Linked DNA regions of Homo sapiens: region 2 is linked to region 1. Evidence: promoter capture Hi-C in human tissues and cell types (Jung and others, 2019). All regions are on one chromosome and are shown on one strand. The core of a region is centred on a gene start or on the middle of the fragment in contact, and the rest is flanking DNA. Distances in the headings are between cores, read along the strand shown.

What was found. Contacts are between HindIII fragments. The study calls those that stand out against the background at their distance.
Region 2: a contact is called between a fragment that was not itself captured here and the fragment with the promoter of NANOS3 in region 1, in 1 of the 25 tissues and cell types used here (hippocampus).

What each region holds. Positions count from the first base shown.
Region 1 is chr19:13,875,088-13,879,837 of GRCh38, forward strand. It overlaps NANOS3 (nanos C2HC-type zinc finger 3), which reads left to right and starts at 2,047. Exons shown (of 2, transcript NM_001098622.3): 1 at 2,047-2,678. The coding sequence starts at 2,162. The HindIII fragment of the contact is 41,747 bases long and covers 1-2,607 here.
Region 2 is chr19:13,166,084-13,170,833 of GRCh38, forward strand. No RefSeq gene overlaps it. Among named protein-coding and RNA genes, the nearest start is that of IER2, 18 kb to the left of the region's middle. RefSeq lists enhancers at 1,219-1,846, 3,539-4,039, 4,040-4,540. The HindIII fragment of the contact is 8,994 bases long and covers 1-4,750 here.

The DNA of each region.
Region 1 (4,750 bases), core at 797-3,296:
GAGAGCTGGTGTCTGGAATCTGGATGGGCTCTGGCTGGATTTGGGACTAAATATTAGAGGGTTGGGGGTAAACAGGCTGGGGCAGGGCAGCTAAAATCCCCTTTTTTTTTTTTTTTTAAGACAGAGTCTCACTCTGTTGCCTAGGCTGGAGTGCAGTGGCCCAATCTCAGCTCACTGCAACCTCTGCCTCCAGGGTTTGAGTGATTCTCTGGCCTCAGCCTCCCAAGTAGCTGGGATTACAGGCATCTGCCACCACAGTGGGCTAATTTTTGTATTTTTAGTAGAGACGAGATTTCACTGTGTTGGCCAGGCTGGTCTCAAACTCCTGACCTCAAGTAATCCTCCCCCCTCGGCCTCCCAAAGTGCTGGGATTACAGGCATGAGCCACTTTGCCTGGCCTAAAACCCCTTTCTGAAATGTGGGTGGTAAGTTCTGCTCCGTGGAGTGCTCCATAGTTTTGTTTTTTAAATTAGAGACAGGATCTCGCTCTTGTCACCCAGGCTGGAGTGCAATGGTGTGACCTTAGCTCACTGCAGCCTCTAATAACTGGAGTCAAGCGTTGATCCTCCCGCCTCAGCCTCCCCAGTAGCCGGAACCACGGGCACGCACCACCACACCTAGCTTATTTCGAAAAAGTGTTTTTGTAGGAACAGGGTCTCAAAACGTTGCCCAGGCTGGTCTCCAACTCCTAGGTTCAAGCAATCCTCCTCGGCCTCTCAAAATGAGCCACAGTGCCTGGCCAATAAAAGTTTCTTAAATGAATGGATGGGTGGATGAGCTGTGTAAGCGGCACAGCGTCTCTCCTCTGTGTCCAAGTCCTGAGCACACCCTCCCCTCCTGGGACTGAGCTGAGATCTCATCTCGGGGAGGACACTGAAGACCTGTAGGTACTAGGGGTCCCCTCCTAACAGCCCAACTTGCTATCCCCCACCTCCCAACTCCAGAGGGTTCTTTCTCACCCCTCTGCAGCCCCCGCCAGGAAAGGGCTCCCTCCCCAGCACCTAGCCTCAGGGGGCCCCAGTAACTAGAAGAAGGAGGCAGATGTGGTGCTTTTTGTTGTTGTTGTTTTGAGACAGAGTCTTACTCTGTTTCCCAGGCTGGAGTGCAGTGGCTTGATCTTGGCTCACCGCAACCTCTGCCTCCTGGGTTCAAGCAATTCTTCTGCCTCAGCCTCCTGAGTAGCTGGGATCACAGGCACCCGCCACCATGCCCAGCTAATTTTGTGTGTGTGTGTGTGTGTGTGTGTATTTTTAGTAGAGACAGGGTTTCACCATGTTAGCCAGGCTGGTCTCGAACTCTTGACCTCAGGTGATCCGCCTGTCTTGGCCTCCCAAACTGTTGGGATGACAGGCATGAGCCACCACTCCCTGGCCTGGTGCATGTCTTTATAAATAACTGGATGGGCAGGTGGCTTCACACCTCAGTTTGCTCATCCATTCAATGGGGGTTCCACTAAGACAACCGATGTGAAAACTCTTGGAGGGAGACCAGAGCTGGGGGCCGGGGGGCATGATCCTTCCCCCCTACCCCCGCAACCAGCCCATGAGCCTGGGACTACCACACTCCTTTCAGAGACAGCTGGAGCATCAGCAACCTCCCGCCTGGACACACACACACACAAAGAACCCAGGGGCACCTGGCCACTCCCCCGCCCAGGGGAAGGAAGAAAAAGTTATAAAGAAGTTACTAAGTTAACTTCTTTAAGTTACTGGTAACTGCTAGTCTTTGGGGGTGGGGTTTCCAACCCATTCTCCCCATCCTCCAGTGGGGCTGGAGGGCTAAGGACTCCTACAAGGAGGGGAGGCAGGGTAGCCCCCCAATTCCCTGGAGGTGTGTACGGGGGGCTGTGGTGCACCTCGCAGGATGCCCCCCCACACACCCTGTGTCCTGTAGTCCCCCGGCACAGCCAGAGGCCATACAGCCCTTTAGGAGGAGTATTAGTGGGGCACCAGGCCCCCCTGTGACAATAAGGAACCTCCCACAGCCTGCTCCTCCCTCTTCACACCCCCTTGGAGGTAAAAGGAGGGTCGGCCAGCACAGACTCCCAGGCTCCAGAGAGGGGAAGGAAGGGGCAGCAGAGAGGGGTCAGAAGGAGGGAGCTTAAGCCAGGCAGGGTTACTTGTCTCTGTGACTCCTTCCGCCTGGCACATGCTGCCCAGCTATGGGGACCTTTGACCTGTGGACAGATTACCTGGGTTTGGCACACCTGGTTAGGGCTCTGAGTGGGAAAGAGGGTCCTGAAACCAGGCTGAGCCCCCAGCCAGAGCCAGAGCCAATGCTGGAGCCGGTGTCAGCCCTGGAGCCGATGCCAGCGCCGGAGTCGGTGCCAGTGCCGGGACCCAAGGATCAGAAGCGCAGCCTGGAGTCCTCGCCAGCTCCCGAACGCCTGTGCTCTTTCTGCAAACACAACGGCGAGTCCCGGGCCATCTACCAGTCCCACGTGCTGAAGGACGAGGCTGGCAGGGTGCTGTGTCCCATCCTGCGGGACTACGTGTGTCCCCAGTGCGGCGCCACACGTGAGCGCGCCCACACCCGACGCTTCTGCCCACTTACTGGCCAGGGCTACACCTCCGTCTACAGCCACACCACCCGAAACTCGGCAGGCAAGAAGCTGGTCCGGCCTGACAAGGCGAAGACACAGGACACAGGCCACCGCCGAGGAGGAGGAGGAGGAGCAGGTGCCTGCACAGGTGGCTGGGGGGGACCTGTCCGAGGGTAGTGGCTGAGCCCCCCTGTGAAGTAAGATTAGCCCCAGTACCCACCTCCAAGGGTTAGGGGAAGACCTTAGAGAGAGCTTAGAACAGCAGTTGATTTTATTTACGTATTTATTTATTTATCTTGAGACAGGTCTCTTTCTGTTGCTCAGGCTGGAGTGCAGTGGCGCCATCTCGGCTCACTGCAACCTCCACCTCCTGGATTCAAGCGATTCTCCTGCCCCAGCTTCCTGGGTAGCTGGGATTATAGGCGCGCGCCACCACACCCGGCTAATTGCCACCATGCCCGGCTAAATTTTGTATTTTTAGTAGAGATGGGGTTTCACCATGTTGGCCAGGCTGGTCTCAAAACTCCTGATCTCGTGATCCGCCCACCTCGGCCTCCCAAACTGCTGAGATTACAGGCGTGAGCACCGCACCGAGCCAGTTTGTTTATGTATTTATTTATTTATCTTGAGACAGAGTCTCTTTCTGTCACCCAGGCTGGAGTGCAGTGGCATGATCTTGGCTCACTGCAACCTCTGCCTTCCGGGTTCAAGCGATTCTTCTGCCTCAGCCTCCTGAGAAGCTGAGATTACAGGCGCCTGCCACCATGGCCAGCTAATTTTTGTATTTTTAGTAGAGATGGGGTTTCACCATGTTGGCCAGGCTGGTCTCGAACTCCCAACCTCGTGATCCACCCTCCTCAGCCTCCCAAAGTGCTGGGATTACAGGCATCAGCCACCACATCTGGCCCGCAGGGTTATTATAGATGCAGAAAGAAGACTTTTATTTTATTTATTTATCAATTTATTTTTCTTCCTTTTTTTTTTTAATTTTTTTTTTTGAGATAGAGTCTCGCTCTATCCACCCAGGCTGGATGGAGTTCAGTGGTGCGATCTTGGCTCACTGCAACCTCTGCCTCCTGGGTTCAAGCGATTCTCCTGCCTCAGCCTCCCGAGTAGCTGGAATTACAGGCGTGCACCACCATTCCTGGTGTGTTTTTTTTTTCCTCCCATAGAAACAGGGTCTTACTATGTTTCCCAGGCCGGTCTCAAACACGGCTTAGGTGATCCTCCTGCCTAGGCATCCCAAAATGCTAGGATTATAGGCGTGAGCCACCACGCCTGGCCCCAGTGAGGTTTTCTTTCTTTCTTTCTTTTATTTGATTATTTTTCTGAGATGGAGTCTTGCTCTGTCACCCAGGCTAGAGTGCAGTGGCGCGATCTTGGCTCACTGCAACCTGTCTCCCGGGTTCAAGCGATTCTCTTACCTCAGCCTCCCGAGTAGCTGGGATTACAGGCACCCACCACCACGCACGGCTAATTTTTGTATTTTTAGTACAGACGGGATTTCACCATCTTGGCCAGGCTGAGTCTTGAACTCCTGACCTCGAGATCCACCCGCCTTAGCCTCCCGAAGTGCTGATATTACAGGCTTGAGCCACCATGCCTGGCCCCCAGTGAGGTTTTAAAAGAGAAACTCGTTCTAGCAACTTAAATTGCCTTTGAGGAAGTCAGCTAACAGAGGAGGGGCCAGTCTAACTAGGTGTGTTTGGGCACTGCCTCCCCCAGCAGACTGTGAGCTCCTGGAGGATAGTGACTGGGAGAGGACGACCCCTCCCAACTACTCTCAGGCAGCTTTGCAGTGAACATTTCTTAAAGTCATGAAAGGGTCAGGTGTGATGGCTTACACCTGTAATCCCAATACTTTGGGAGGCCAAGGCAGGAGGATCGCTTGAGCCCAAGAGTTTGAGACCAGCCAGGGCAACATGGTGAAACCCAGTGTCTACAAAAAATTAGCTGGGCATGGTAGTGTGTGCCTGTAGTCCCAGCTACTTGGGAGGCTGACGAGGGAGGATCGCTTGGGTCCAGGGGACAGAGGCTGCAGTGAGCTGAGATGGTGCCACTGCACTGCAGCCTGGGCAACACAGCAAGACCTCGTCTTAAAAAAAAAAAAAAGCACTGGTCATGGTGGCTCATGCCTGTAATCCCAGTACTTGGGGAAGCTGAGGCAGGTGGATCACCTGAGGTCAGGAATTCAAGACCAGCCTGGCC
Region 2 (4,750 bases), core at 862-3,361, 710 kb before region 1:
ATATCAGCTCATTGAACCCTCTGCCTCCCAGGTTCAAGCAATTCTCCTGCCTCAGCTTCCCAAGTAGATGGGATTACAGGCATGCACCGCCACGCCCAGCTAATTTTTGTATTTTTAGCAGAGATGGGGATTCACCATGTTGGCCAGGCTGGTCTTGGAACTCCTGACCTCAGGTGATCTGCCTGCCTCAGCCTCCCAAAGTGCTGAGATTACAGGTGTGAGCCACTGTGCCCCACCAGGTAGGCACTTTCATTAGCCCCATTTTACAGATGAGGGAACTGAGGGGAACTGAGGCACAGAGTGGTTAAACAAAGTGTCCAGGGTTACCCTGTCCAGTAAAGCAAAGCCCATTGACATTCTTCCTCTCCTGGATTTTTTTTTTTTTTTGAGATGGAGTCTTGCTCTGTCGCCCAGGTGGGAGTGCAATGGCCCAATCTTGGCTCACTGAAAGCTCTGCCTCCCAGGTTCAAGCAATTCTCCTGCCTCAGCTTCCTGAGTAGCTGGGATTACAGGCGTGCACCACCGTGCCCAGCTAATTTTTGTATTTTTTTTTTTTTTAAGTAGAGACGGGGTTTCACCATGTTGGTCAGGCTGGTCTCGAACTCCTGACCTCGTGATCTGCCCGCCTCGGCCTCCCAAAGTGCTGGGATTACAGGTGTGAGCCACCACGCCCGGCCGGATTTTTCTTCTTTTCTTTTCTTTTCGGTGGGGAGGAGGAGAGTGTGAGGACCTTTGTCCTGGTTGGTGAACTTTTGCTTAAACCCAGCTTCTATCTCTGGTTCTCAGATAAGGAACCAGCTCCTTCTGGGAGCTGAGAGCCGCACCCCAGGTCTCCTTGCCACTCCTGGGCTACCTGTTTTCTCTTTCCTCATATCCAGGGCTGATCACTCACCAGGTTCCCTCTTAGAATCATTTGCCACTTCACTTCATTTTCCTCTCTTCTCCCCTTTCTGCAGGATGAACACTTCCCCAGGGGTCAATCTGTGCACGCTCAGTCCAGGGGCTGGGTAAAGACAAAGTTTTTTGTTTGCTGTTGTTCACTTGTTTATTTAAATTTATTTATTTTGAGATGGAGTCTCGTTCTGTCACCCAGGCTGGAGTGCAAGGCGCGATCTCGGCTCACTGCAACCTCCGCCTCCCGGGTTCAAGCAATTCTCTGCCTCAGCCTCCTGAGGAGCTGGGATTACAGGTGTGCACCACCATGCCCGGCTAATTTTTGTATTTTTAGTAGAGATGTGGTTTCACCATCTTGGCCAGGCTGATCTTGAACTTCTGACTTCGTGATCCACCTGTCTCAGCCTCCCAAAGTGCTGGGATTACAGGCGTGAGCCACTGCGCCCCACCCTCACTTGTTTATTTACTTGTTTTGTAAACATTATTTACTGAGCATGATCAAACTGCTAGACTGGAGAGGCTGCTGCAATCTCCTCCCTCTGCCCCCGCCATTTCCTGGTACCCATCCTTGCTGGTGGTGTCTGCAATCAGCGGGGCCCTGGCTGAGTTCACGGGAAAGGAAATGGCTCATTGCTTCAGCCTTTAGACCGGGGGGCAGGGAGGGCCTGTCGGGAGGCCGCCTAGTCAGGGGCGTGTCAGAGGCCAGAGGGGCCGGGGCCCAGCAGCTGGGGCTTGGTAAGCTCTGGAGCCTGGGCTCCAGGCCAGCTCGCTGCCAACCTCCACCTGAGACCACCCCACCCCCAACCCCCTTCCTTCTCTCCCCTGCTGCCGAGGCGCGCCCTTCCGGAGTGAAACTTTGGTTTCTCACGACCCGGAAGGCTTGAAGCAAACCTGCAATTACTCACTGCCTGGTCTGTGCGGGCTGCAGCTCTCAGACTCAGGATGAGGTGGCGGTAGGTGGGGTGGGGCTCTTGGGACCCTTTTACCCCTTCGTGCTGCTGGCTGGGGGAGGCCACTAAAGTCTGCGCGCTGCCTTCCACGCGTTCTCCAGACACTTTCCAAATCCCTGCGGACACTACCTTATAAACAGATACTGGAATTTTCAAAGTACTGTCATGCTGTTTGGGACCAGAAATTCCCTCCCATGAGGGTTGGATATGAAGCCAGTTTGGAGGGGGAAGCTGAGGGTGCATGCCCCTGGATCTACCAAAGCCTTCTCTTCAGTCTGGGAGGTTTTTTTTCTTTTTCTTTTTCTTTTTTGAGACAGAGTCTCACTCTGTCGCCCAGGCTGGAGTGCAGTGGTGTGATCTCAGCTCACTACAACCTCCACCTCCCAGGTTCGAATGATTCTCCTGCCTCAGCCTCCCGAGTAGCTGGACGACAGGCGTGCGCCACCACACCTGGCTACTTTTTGTATTTTTAGTAGAGACAGGGTTTCACCATGGGTTTCAGAGGGTGCAGTGGCTCACGCCTGTAATCTCAACACTTTGGGAGGTCGAGGCAGGTGGATCACTTGAGGTCAGGAGTTCGAGACCAGCCTGGACAACATGGTGAAACCCTGACTCTACTAGAAATACAAAAATTAGCTGGTGGTGGTGGCATGCACCTGTAGCCCCAGCTACTCAGGAGGCTGACTCAGGATAATCAGGAACCCGGGAGGAGGAGGTTTCATTGCTCCAGACTTTGAGACTCCATCTGAAAAAAAAAAAAAAATTAAGCCAGGCAAAGTGGCTGATGCCTGTAATTCCAAAGCTTTGAGTGGCTGAGGTGGGATGATCACTTGAGGCTAGGAGTTCGAGACCAACCTATGCAACATGGCAAGACCACCACACCCCCATCTCTGCAAAAAATTAGCCAGGTGTGGTGGCGCACACCTGTAGTCCCAGCTACTCTAGAGGCTGAGGCGGGAGGGTGGCTTGAGCCCAGGAGTTTGAGGCTGCAGTGAGCTATGATCATGTCACTGCACTCCAGCCTGGGTAACAAAGCAAGGCCCAGTCTCAAGAAAATCAGTTATTTTTGCATATGTATGGCGTACATAAGAACATTTGTTACATGTCTATAATGTAACCTCTCTCTGCTTTGCTTTGCAGCTCTGGCAGGGGCAGGGCAGCAGTGCTATGATGAGGCCACTTGTAATTGGGGGTGTTCATGGGAGGGCCTTTGTTCTCTGAGCACTGAGTGGGCACTGCTGTATCTCCATATGCCTGGGATCCTCATTGGTTCCCCTCCTTTCTCCCAGGCTTGTGCCTCTTTCTTTTACTTGACTTTTTTTTTTTTTCCACCCAGGCTGCCGTATAGTGGTGCCATCTCAGTTCACTGCAACCTCCACCTCCCAGGTTCAAGCAATTCTCCTGCCTCAGCCTCCCCAGTACCTGGGACTACAGGCATGTGCCACCATGCCTGGCCGATTTTTGTATTTTTAGTAGAGACAGGGTTTCACCATGTTGGCCAGGCTGATCTCAAACTCCTGGCCTCAAGTTATCCATTAGCCTCAGCCTCTGAAAATGCTGGGATTACAGGCGTGAGCCCGGCCTTTCTTCTTTTTCTTTTTTCTTTTGTTTGTTTTTTTAGAGACAGGGTCTCACTCTGTCACCCAGGTTGCAATGTAGTGGCATGATCATAGCTCACTGCAGCCCTGAACTCCTGTGCTCAAGTGATCTTCCCACCTCAGCCTCCCAAGTAGCTGGGACTATAGGTGTACATCACCATGCCTGGCTAATTTTTTAATTTTTTTTGCAGATATGGGGTCTTGCTATGTTGCTGAGGCTGGTCTCCAATTCCTGATTTCAAGTGAGCCTCCTGCCTCTGCCTCCCAAAGTACTGTGATGAGCTACTACGCCTGGTCATTGTCCCTCTTTCTCATGACTCTCTGGACATCCCTGGGGTGGAGGGTGGGGCAGGCACACACATCCCTCAACTTCCCAGTGGTTCCACGATGACTAAGCCAGCCCTGTCCCTGAGGCTGGGAGTCTGGAGCTAGGATCCACCCCCATGGCCTCATATCCCAACCTTGAGCCTGGGTTTCTGGTCAGACTGGACGGGCTAGCTCGGTCTCCTTAACTCTCAGAGTTGCCTTGTCCAGGCCCAGCGGGTCCCACACAGCCAGGCACACCCCACCCCACAGGGCTCCTGGGAAATTCTCTGCCCCACCCTCAGGCTGCCTCAGACAGACTGAGGTTACCTGTGATTGTCCCAGATAACCCGAGTGAGCCCATCCTCTGCTCTGGGTGGCTCCCTCCCTGGCAGCTGACCTGTAAATTTTGAAAAGATGGGGACAATGCTCAGCTAGGAGGGATGCTCCTGCTGTCTTCCCTGCTGGCCTGGCCACTCCCCAGACTGGACAGGTCCCTTGGCAGCTCTTCCCAGCAACCCAGGCAGCCCCAAGCCCCCTCTTGCTTGGTGTTCCAGGCCAGTGAGAATCTCACTTCTTCTCCAAAACTTTGTCTTCCAACTCCTGTTTTGTTGTGTTTTGTTTTTTTATTGAAACAGGGTCTCATTCTGTTACCCAGGCTGGAGCTCATGGCATGATCATAGCTCACTGCAGCCTCAAACTCCTAGGCTCAAGCAATTCTTCCCACCTCACCCTCCTGAGTAGCAGGGACTACAGATGTGGGCCACCATGGTCAGCTAATTTAAAAAGTTTTTTTCTTAGGCCAGGCATGGTGGCTCACGCCTGTAATCCCAGCACTTTGGGAGGCCGAGGCAGGTGGATAACAAGGTCAGGAGTTCGAGACCAGCCTGGCCAACCTGGTGAAACCCCTGTCTCTACTAAAAATACAAAAATTAGCCGGGCGTGGTGACAGGCACCTGTAGTCCCAGCTGCTTGGGAGGCTGAGGCAGAGAATTGCTTGAACCC